2 separate regions of the Homo sapiens genome follow, and region 1 is linked to region 2. Evidence: promoter capture Hi-C in 16 types of primary human blood cells and fetal thymus (Javierre and others, 2016). All regions are on one chromosome and are shown on one strand. Each heading gives the region's core, a stretch centred on a gene start or on the middle of the fragment in contact. The rest is flanking DNA. Distances are from core to core; before and after follow the strand shown.

Region 1 (5,109 bases), core at 1,280-3,779, 240 kb after region 2:
TTGGGGAGCTGAGAAAGTTACCACAGACCAGGGACAAGAGTTTTGACGGAGATGCCTACTGCCCCGGGACAAGGGTCAAGTGGGGTAGAGGGAGGAAAGTATTTTTGAGGTTTGTTTTCTTTGATCTAGAGCAGGGGTCAGCACGTTTTTTTCTTAAAGGGCCAGAGAGTTAATATTTTAAGCATGGCAGGCCAAGAAACAAAATTAATGATATTATCAGGTACTTATATAACAGTTTACAATGTAACCATTTAAAAATAAAAAAAACCATTATCAGCTTGTAGGCAGCTGGCCAGATCTGGCTTGAGTACTGAGTTTGCCGATTCCTGACCTAGAGGAACCCCATTCCCTTGCTCCCAAAACACATGGTTGAGCCCTGAGTGCTGGATATTGAAGGGTATAGTCTCGTATTTGCTGGAGGGTAAGCTGATGGGGAAAGTGGGGATACATCCCACTGCCCTGGCACAGATGTAGAAATCCAAGTATAGGTAAGGAGCAGGAGGGAAGGGGATAAAAAAAAATTCAAGTATAAAGTATGTGTTCCAGTATGCAGTGGCTCACACCTATAATCCCAACACTTTGGGAGGCCCAGGCGGAAGCATCGCTTGAGGCCGGGAGTTGGAGACAAGTCTGGTCACCACAGCAAGACCCCATCTGTAAAAAAATACTAGCCAGGCATGCTGGCACGCGCCTGTGGTCTCAGCTACTCAGGAGGCTGAGGCGGATATCGCTTGAGCTGCTTGAGCCTAGGAGTTTGAAGTTCAGTGGGCCGTGACTGCACCACTGCACTCCACCCTGGGTGAGAGCAAGGCCTTGTCTCAAAACTAAAAGTATGTGTCCCATGATGCTGCCTGAAAAATTAAGGCTGAGAGACAGGAGACATTCAGGTTATTTGCTGAGTGATGGTGACAAACGCAGGCTTCCTTAGAAGGTAGACTAAGCTTAGGCGCCTTATACTCCTGCTAAGAACTCAGGCCTTGGGCCGTGTGTGGTGGCTCATGCCTGTAATCCCAGCACTTTGGGAGGCCGGGTCGGGTGGATCACCTGAGGTCAGGAGTTCAAAACCAGCCTGGCCAACATGGTATAACTCCATCTCTACTAAAAATACAAAAAAATTAGCTGGGAGTGGTGGCACGTGCCTGTAAGCCCAGCTAATCGGGAGGCTGAGGCAGGAGAATCACATGAACCTGAGAGGCAGGGGTTGCAGTGAGCTGAGATCTCGCCATTGCACTCCAGCCTAGGCAACAAGAGCAAAACGCTTAAAAAAAAAAAAACAAAAAAAAACTCAGGCCCTACTCCCGTTGTCCTCATCATGTCTCCTTTGTGCTCCCACGGAACTTTGAACCTTATTGTTTAAAGACGAGAGGCAAGGCCGGGCGTGGTGGCTCACACCTGTAATCCCAGCACTTTGGGAGGCTGAGGTGGGCGGATCACGAGGTCAGGAGTTTGAGACCAACCTGGCCAACATAGTGAAACCCTGTCTCTACTAAAAATACAAAAATAAGCCAGGCATGGTGGCGCATGCCTGTAGTCCCAGCTACTCGGGAGGCTGAGGCAGGAGAATCGCTTGAACCCCGGGGGTGGAAATTGTGGTGAGCCAAGATCGCGCCACTGCACTCCAGCCTGGCGACAGAGCAAGACTCCATCTCAAAAAACAAAAAACAAACACGTTAAAAATGGGTAAAGAGAAGTAATCTACTTATGGTCACAAAGCTTACATAAGGGTAGACTTCATTGAACCCATGAAGTCTAGCCCTAAACTGTCTCTTCTTAACTATTCCAATGTGCTGTATCTTAACCACCTCTGCTGGCCCACGTTTGTTGAGTGGGCTGCTGTTAGTCCTGGAACCCAGAGCCCTGTACCCCTCACCTCAGGCTGTCAGAGAAGGCCTCCAGGCCAAATTTGGAGACACAGTAGCCCCCACCATTGGCTGCCAGGCGACCCAGGACGCTGGTGATGTTGATCACCCGGCCCCGGGCTTGCTGCAGCAGAGGCAGCAGGGCAAGGGTGACCCCGATGGGACCCATTGTGTTCACATTCAGCACCCGCTGGAAATCGTCCCGGGTCAGCCATGGTGTGGGTCCGATGATACCAGCCACACCAGCATTATTCACCAGACCAAAAAGCCCTGTGGGGAGATGAAAAGGATGCTGGGGGTAGGTGAGGCACTCCCACAGCTCCCTCTTCTTCCTGGGAGCATCTGAAAACTGCTTCTCCTCAAATTGTCCCTTTAGCTTACCACAGCCCTTGCAGGTGACTCCTGGGGTGACTGTGGGGATCAGGACACCCCACACCATATTCCTGGTGGTCTACCATACTTACCTGCTTCCTTAACGTGCATCTCCACCCACTTGGCTGCCTGCTGGACGCTCTGGGGATCAGTGATATCCAACAGGGTGGTGTGGAGGCGGGAGGAGGCCACCCGCTGCAGGTCCTCGGCCCCGGAGGGGGTCAGGCAGCTGGCCAGGACTCGGAAGCCTCTCTGGTCCAGCTGCAGTGCCAGAAGGCGCCCAAAGCCTGAGTCACAGCCGGTGATGAAGACAAAGGCATTGCTGGCGGGCAGGCTCTGCCGGTCCCTGAGCAACCACAGCACTGCCCAGAGTAAGGCACCCAGCAGAAGAGGCAGCCACATAGCTGGAGCCCAAGTGACCTACAGGTGGCAGCCTAGGCTGGGCAGAAAAACTTGTCCAGTTTACTGTGGCCCTCAAGCCCTTTCCCCTAATACCCTCCCTAGCTGGAAGCATCTGGTGTGAGCATATTGAGAAATTATCTGGTTGGCAGATAATTGGCCAACCATGGCTCATCTGTTCAAAGCAAAGATGTGGGCAGACCCTGTATTTGTGGCTAACTTAACTAAAACCACATGAGCCAGATCCTGTGTACAGACCTGCTGTATGGAGCAGAGGCATCTTTTTTTTTTTTTTTTTTTTTTTGAGATGGAGTCTCACTCTGTCGCCCAGGCTGGAGTGCAGCAGAGGCATCTTCTTGCTTGCCTCACACCACCTCTCCTTCTAAACCAGGGACACTGAACCTTCTATATGCAACCTGGGTCTTGTGTTTGGAATGATGTATAGGGCCAAGAGGTTTGCTGTGTGATACTGAGCATCTCACTGTCTCTCTCAACCTATTTTCTCATCTACCAAGTGGGGCTAAGACCCACCAGGTCCACCTCAGAGTTGTGGAGGATCAAAGGGGATAATGTGTGAGGAAGCATGTTAAAAGCTGAAAGTTTTGAGTTGGCAATACATGTAATATCTGGCTAGTCTTCTCAGTTCCCCCAGCTCCCAGTATCCACTTACCTCCTGTGGCGAAAGCTGGCAGGTACTACAGCGCCCGAAGCTTATTCTTTTGCTTTTGTTTAAGAGACTGCTCCCAGTCTTCCCAGCCTCCCACACTAACTACTGCTAAGGCCAAAGTCCGGAGTGGGTGGACTTGGATGCCAGGCGTATTAAGTGTATGTGTGACAGGGTGGGGATAGGACTGAGGAGGAGGAGGAGCCAGGGAGGCTGGAGCTTGCCTGGCTGAAGCCAGGACTTGGCAGAGGCCAGATTTGCCTAGGCTCCCCCCACCCCTTGGCTGTCTTTCTCAGCCTGGGTTCCTGACCATCTATGTCATGGTCTCCAAGGAGGAGGGAGCTGTCAAGGATGGCAGCTGCACTGCTCTGTTGGTAACGGTTACTGGACCTGTCATTCCTCCCCCTTCTCAGCCCTGAAGTGCCCCCAGGAATTAATCTCCCACCTGGCTCAGACTCATGACACTGCTTAGAGTTAGCCTGGGAGAGGCCATGAGCACGTGGAGAGGCAGAAAGCCAGAGCTGGGGACCAGGCCTGTACCTTGCCTTGTTTCTCTTCTGTAGGAAACAAGTCCTGAATTAGGAAGCTTGGGGCAGGGCTACTAGGACCTTCTCTCAGGAGGGATGGGAACTCCCACCCTCTGCTTGCCTAACAGACACCTGCACAAGGGCCATGGAGGAGAAGAGAGTTGGGATAGTAAGAGGAAGCTAGTTCCACCCTCTCCCCAAAAGGTACCTGTCCCTCAGGGAAACCACCTTTGAACCTTCCACTCCCACCCCCGACACTGGAGCTAGTAGCTCTCTGAAACACACCACAGAGAAACGGAGGCTTGTGTTTTATTCAAGGCTTGTCAGCCTCCCTCCTTCCCCCTGCGGGTGAGGTAGGAGGGATAGGGTTGGGGGAGGGAACAGGGGCTAGGAAGGGGCAGACTGCAGCTGCCCTTTGTAGACATATTCCAGTGCAGTGGCAATGGTGCGCATGTCCAGCTCGATGCTCCGAGCCCAGTTCTCCACATCCCCAATTTCCTGGGAAGGGGGAGAGGAGGTGGGAGCCCAGGAATCAGAATGGGTAGAGTATGGCTTCCAGTCTGGGGAATACGTTTTATTCATCTCCTGGAAAAGGCTTTACTTGGACCCACCAACTGCTTTTCTTTCTTTCTCTACCTTTTCTGACACTGGGGCTATAGATGGGGTTTCTGGGACCACCCTACTTCCTCCTTAACCTAAACCTGAGGTAACCTGACTGGAGGCAGCCAATGGGGGCCCAGGATTGGGGTGGTGAGGTAGGGAGTATGGCCCACCTTGAGTGCCTGGTTGAAGTTCTCCACCATTCCGATCCACTGGCCTGTCTGCTTGGCAAATTGGGCAGCCTGGACCTGTAGGGTCTTCACCTCATGGTCCAGCTTTCTCTGGTTCATGTAGGCCTGGGCCACACTGGGGGGTTGGAGGAGGGAGGAGATCAGCTCCAGCTAGTTGGGGGTGGTCTCCGGGACTAATATTCCATTGCAGCAGTGGGAGTTCAGCCAAGAATCAGGGCTCATAATTTTGGCCATTTTTGGATGTGATGCAAATGACTACCAGTACATGCAAATAAACCCAGCTCCTTCCTTTCACTCCCAGGATTCCCAGGAGAGCCAAGCTCGGAGCTGACTAGAAACATACCAGCTCCAAACCCCAAAAAGGAGTTCCTGCAGCTGAGTGGGGGAAGGGAGGGAAAACCTGGGGTGATATCCCTGAGGAAAAAGCTGGGAGGGAAAAAGGGGCATGGAAAAACTGGGAAAATCCAGCAGGAGGAACACATCTGGCAGTGATTGGA
Region 2 (5,095 bases), core at 2,529-5,028:
TTTAACTTATTTCAGGGATAAGAGATGTATACCAGGTACTAAGGCTGTTTGAGGATATCCTAACACTGTGGTTGATATCAGGGCAACAGTTGCATCCTTTCCCACCATTCCCCTTGGTGCTACTTTAGAGAGAGAACCCTGTGATAGAAGGGCCATAGGTCTGGGCCAAGAAGCAGTTCTGTTGTTCTTGGATGTGGGGAGGAGAGGGAGGGGGCTGGGTGGAACTTGGGCAAGCCTCCATACCATCTCAGCAAAGATGCAGCCCAGGCTCCAGATGTCCACAGCTGTGGAATAATATTTGCAGCCCAGGAGGATTTCAGGAGCTCGGTACCACAGGGTCACCACCTGAGGGACGGGAATAGGGAGGGGCGGGGTGGTTTATAGGGTATGGAAATTCCCGCATCTCAGTTCCTCAACACTACTCTGCTTACTCTTGGCCTCTTAACAAGCAGTTTCCTTCCCTCCATCATCTTTCCCCTCCCACTGATTTCCAGTCCATAGTTCTGGACTGAACCCCTAATTTGAGATCTTCCTGGAAAAACTTGAGACAAATTGGTCATAATTTTATTTCTAAATTTTTTCTTTTTGTAGATTTGTAGAGATGGGGTCTCGCTATGTTGCCCATGATGGTCTCGAACTCCTGGGCTCAAGTGATCCTCCCACCTCAGCCTCCCAAAGTATTGGTATTACAGGTGTGGGCCCAGTTAGCAACACAGTATGAATTCCATGCATACCCTAAGACTCTTTAGGATGTCAAGAGATTATTTCTACCTAGTAAGAAACTGTTAGCCAGATATTTTTAGTAACTTTGTGAATACCCTAGTTAACACCTCTTGGGAAGCTCAGAGAAAAAAGACATAAAGGGACTCACCTCATGGGTGTAAGTACGAACAGGGACTCCAAAAGCTCTGGCTAGTCCAAAGTCTGCTAGCTTGATGGCCCCCTCTGTGTTAATAAGCAGATTCTGAGGTTTAAGGTCTCGGTGGAGGACCCGATGAGAATGGCAGAAAGCTAGGCCCTGGAGCAGCTGGAACAGATAGCTCTGACAAAGGAGAAAGAGAGGACTGTGTTTCTCCATTACAGTGAGCAGACTGGGTTTGCTCTGTGCCCCTAAAACTCTACTAAAGCCTTTATTATGTTGGATTATAGTTACATATTTACAAGCTATTTCTCCCAATGGACTGTCAGCCCAGAGAGGATAAGGACCAAGTCTTACTCAATTTTCCATCCCTTTTCTACATCCTGTGCATTGAAAAAATGTTTGTTAATAGATTGAAAGTAGCTCTGGGAGTGAAGAATCCAGCCCTAAAATAGACAATAGGGACTCACTAGCTAGGTCTTCCACCAAATGGAAGGGCTTTTTGGAGGAATTTACCAAGTGCTCTCAAATCCCGTTTATCTGAGTTTCATCTGACCTCCCACCTGAGTTGCTAGGTTGACTCACTAGAGTTTCAACTTTGATTGTTCAGTCCAACCCTAGGGTTAATGAATATAATGAGCAGGGAAGGAGACACAAAAAGAAGGGGAGTGTGTGTGTATAGGAGATGAGGGCTCAGAAGGAGGCCAAAATCATAAAATATCACCCTGAATTGCCTGCCACCAGTCCCCCAAGACATGCCCATGATGAGAGGAGCTGATGAGAAGCATTACCTTGATGAGGGGAAGAGGAATGCCAGTGAGAGCAGAGGCATCCATGAATTTCTTGAGATCTTGGTGCAGAAATTCAAAAACCAGGTAGAGTTTATTTTCTGTGTGAATGACATCCAGCAGCCTAGAGAAGGAAAGTTTGAGGAAATGGAGGTGTGTGAGAGAGAGAAATGCCCACACTGTACAGACAGAACTTATCCTCCTTTCCAGCTGGATCACCTCTCAGACGCATACTTACTTGACAATATTAGGATGGTTAAGCTCCTTAAGCAGAGAGATCTCTCGGATGGCAGTACTGGGCACACCCTCAGTCTCACTTGGAGAGGTTGGGAAAGCAGAGATGGGAATATGGTTACAAATATTCCTTTCCCCCCCACCTAGTCATTTCTTTCCCCCAAGGAGACACCACCCAGCACCCCCTAGGAAAGTGAGAGAAGAGAAAGGGTGATGGTAAGAGCTAATTCTTGGGTAGTCAGGGTGTGGTTTTTGGATATATTAAGGCCATTATCTCCTCTTTTCCCAGGGGTAGGTAAGTAAAGCCGCCTGGTGAAGGTGAAGCAGGGAGACTGTAATGGAGGGGAAAAAATGCAGGAGTAGCCCCCAGCCTCCCCAGAGGGGCCAGTGAGGTTCAACTGCCATTCTTTGGAAAGAGGAGAGAATTCTAAGGTGAGGGTGGGGCAGTGAAGAGGGCTCTTCATTCAGAAAGGCGATTCTCGCCGGTTCCCACATAACTCCACTCCATGGAGAGTCTTGGACCTCATCTCAGAGACCTCCTTTCTCTCCCCGAGTCTGTAGTCGCACATTTGGGGGCACGATCCGGCTCAGTTTGGGAAGAAAGTTTTCCATGGATTCCACACCACCCTATACTCTCCCCAGGGAGTATAAGTATACTCTTCACCTTCTACTGGCCCCCAACCCACCTCTCCACTTCTAAAGAAGTCCCTCCCTGCTCTCTTCCGGTCCCTGGACGGCTACCCGCCCGTGGGGGGTTGGGGGGGACAATCAAGGAGGTCCCCAGTTAGGAGTCCCGGGTACAGAGGCCACTCACGTGTCCAGGCGGATTTTCTTAAGCGCCACCACCTCTCCCGTCAACTTGTTTCTGGCTTTGTACACAACTCCGTACGTGCCCTCTCCGATCTTTTCCACCTTTTGGAAGTTCTCCATGAAGCGCCAGCGAGTCGGGTCAGCCCGGCCCTGGAGCGGGGGCCTGGGAACCCTGCAGAAGGCGGACCCTGGCTCTCGGGGGCCGAGGAGGGGGAAACAGGGCCCAGTACCGTGGCCCCGGGTCGGGATGGAACGCAGTATACCTCTCGCTCTTGTCAATTTGGCCAACTTGAAACAATGTTGCCGCCTCCCACCGAGTTCCCGACCGCCACCAGAGGCCCCGCCCCTGCTTCCCGCGTTTCCCTGGCTCCGCCCCCAGGCCTTTCTATTGGTCAACGTCAGAGCCGGGGGGCGAGCCCAGCGCTCCTCCCCGCAAATGATCCCGCCCCAGGCAAGTTTGGTTCTTGGGGGCTAGACAAGTTTCTTCCCCGGTGGGGCGGCTGAACACTCTTCCCAAGTACCTGCTTTGGGTCCAAGTTTCCTACCTATGTCTCTAGTCTGTAGGGATTTCTTGATTTCTAACTCACTATTTTCACCAATCCTGGGGAAAATATGTATCGACCTAAGGTTAAATTCCACCTGGCCCAGGAGCCTCCTTTGGAAACCAGGAAGCCGGGAATCTCGTTGCAAAGGAATCCTGGGCCTCAGAGGAGTCGTTGCCTCTGCCTCATAGCATACCCCGACACTGTCTCTGTTTTGGGATGCAGGGTTCTGTTTCTGTCTTTTTGAGAAGTTCCTGGTTTAATTCACTCTCCCATGATAAACTGTTGTGTCTGGTATGTGTTACGCAGCTGCCTTTCAGTTAGCTCTTGCCCGGGAGTGCATCAAGATGAGAGTGACCCAGTGAAACCAGAAACTGTCATTGAGTAGCAGGATGGGAAAGCAATGTCTAGGGACCAGGATCCCTTTGTCAGTTTTTCCTTTTTCCTCTCCTCCGGCCCCTCCCAGGCCTTCTCTGAGGGAGAAGAGGAAGGGCTATGCAAATGAGCACCCTTTTCTTATATAGGGGCCTATCCCAGTCCCCCCAGTGCCTTTGGTTGCTGGAGGGAAGAACACAATGGATCTGGTGCTAAAAAGATGCCTTCTTCATTTGGCTGTGATAGGTGCTTTGCTGGCTGTGGGGGCTACAAAAGGTATGTGTGGATATGTGGACATGAGCAGGTGTGAACTTGGGGATGAATTCCCCCTGCTCTGGTTTCTGTCCTCCTAATGGGAGATAGCGGCAATATTTCAGGCGTCTCCCACTCATTTGATTTAGTGAGGATGTGGGCACCTGGGCTCCCTCCCTACATGGAGATTTGGGATTTTGCCTGAAAATAATCTCATATGCTTGGAGGGGCAGAAGGATAGAAGGTCTCTGTGGCACTGATTCTGAGGCTTCCTTGGCAGTGAGCTGGAGCACGGGCTCCAAAGGGGTGAAATGTGCAGGAGACTCTTTTAGGAAACGTCTCTTGGGGTAGGAGATTTAAAGTGGGGAGTCAGAGAATGTGGTATTGGGTAAGAACACTAAGGAGATACAATCCTCTCCTCTTGGGATGGGTACGGGTGAACACAGCCCAGACCTTTTGTTCTGGGGCTGGAGAGATAGGCAGAGGGGTCTCAGCTGAGCATCACATGAAAGGGCTCTGGGGGATTGGGCCTCGTGACAGGAGCAAGGGGCGGGGGTGGGGTGGTGAGAGGGTCTGGAATGTCCCGTGCTGCTCTGAGGAGAGTTGGAAGTGGAGAAAGAATGGGGTATCTTATGACTTCTCTTGTTCTAGTGGTGGGATGCTCAATAGATGATTCCAGATCCTCCCCCAGCAGAATCAACTAGGGTTACAGCACACATTAGAAAGGGAATGAGGCCGGGCGCCGTGGCTCACGCCTGTAATCCCAGCACTTTGGGAGGCTGAAGCAGGTGGATCACGAGGTCAGGAGTTCGAGACCAGCCTGGCCAATATGGTGAAACCCCCGTCTCTACTAAAAGTACAAAAATTAGCTGGGCATGGTGGCACATGCCTGTAGTCCCAGCTACTCAGAAGGCTGAGGCTGGAGAATCACTTGAACCCAGAAGGCAGAGGTTGCAGTGAGCCAAGATCACACCAATGCACTCCAGCCTGGGTGACAGAGCGAGTCTCCGTCTCAAAAAAAAAAAAAAAAAGAAAGGGGATGAGGCCCGGCACAGTAACTCATGCCTGTAATCCTAGCACTTTGAGAGGCTGAGACGGGTGGATCACTTGAGGTCAGACCAGCCTGGCCAATATGGTGAAACTCCATCTCTACTAAAAATACAAAAATTAGCTGGGCATGGTGGTACGCACCTGTAATCCCAACTACTTGGGAGGCCGAGGCATGAGAATCGCTT

What was found. Contacts are between HindIII fragments. The CHiCAGO score rates a contact against its expected background, and 5 or more counts as called.
Region 1: a contact is called between a fragment that was not itself captured here and the fragment with the promoter of PMEL in region 2, in 7 of 17 cell types (naive CD4 T cells, naive CD8 T cells, activated CD4 T cells and 4 more). The highest score is 7.9, in naive CD4 T cells.

Annotation. Positions count from the first base shown.
Region 1 is chr12:55,718,709-55,723,817 of GRCh38, reverse strand. It overlaps RDH5 (retinol dehydrogenase 5), which reads right to left and starts at 3,425. Exons shown (of 5, transcript NM_002905.5): 1 at 3,301-3,425; 2 at 2,324-2,665; 3 at 1,871-2,129. The coding sequence starts at 2,633. BLOC1S1-RDH5 (BLOC1S1-RDH5 readthrough) reads right to left here. Exons shown (of 6, transcript NR_037658.1): 3 at 4,595-4,727; 4 at 1,871-2,129. It overlaps BLOC1S1 (biogenesis of lysosomal organelles complex 1 subunit 1), which reads right to left. Exons shown (of 4, transcript NM_001487.4): 3 at 4,595-4,727; 4 at 4,115-4,319. The coding sequence ends at 4,209. It also overlaps a transcript of CD63 not described here. RefSeq lists an enhancer at 2,362-2,990. The HindIII fragment of the contact is 1,627 bases long and covers 1,716-3,342 here.
Region 2 is chr12:55,964,725-55,969,819 of GRCh38, reverse strand. It overlaps PMEL (premelanosome protein), which reads left to right and starts at 3,778. Exons shown (of 11, transcript NM_001384361.1): 1 at 3,778-3,884. The coding sequence starts at 3,809. CDK2 (cyclin dependent kinase 2) reads right to left here and starts at 2,990. Exons shown (of 7, transcript NM_001798.5): 1 at 2,696-2,990; 2 at 1,886-1,963; 3 at 1,651-1,771; 4 at 872-1,042; 5 at 244-345. The coding sequence starts at 2,811. RefSeq lists an enhancer at 3,220-3,299. The HindIII fragment of the contact is 16,386 bases long and covers 1-5,095 here.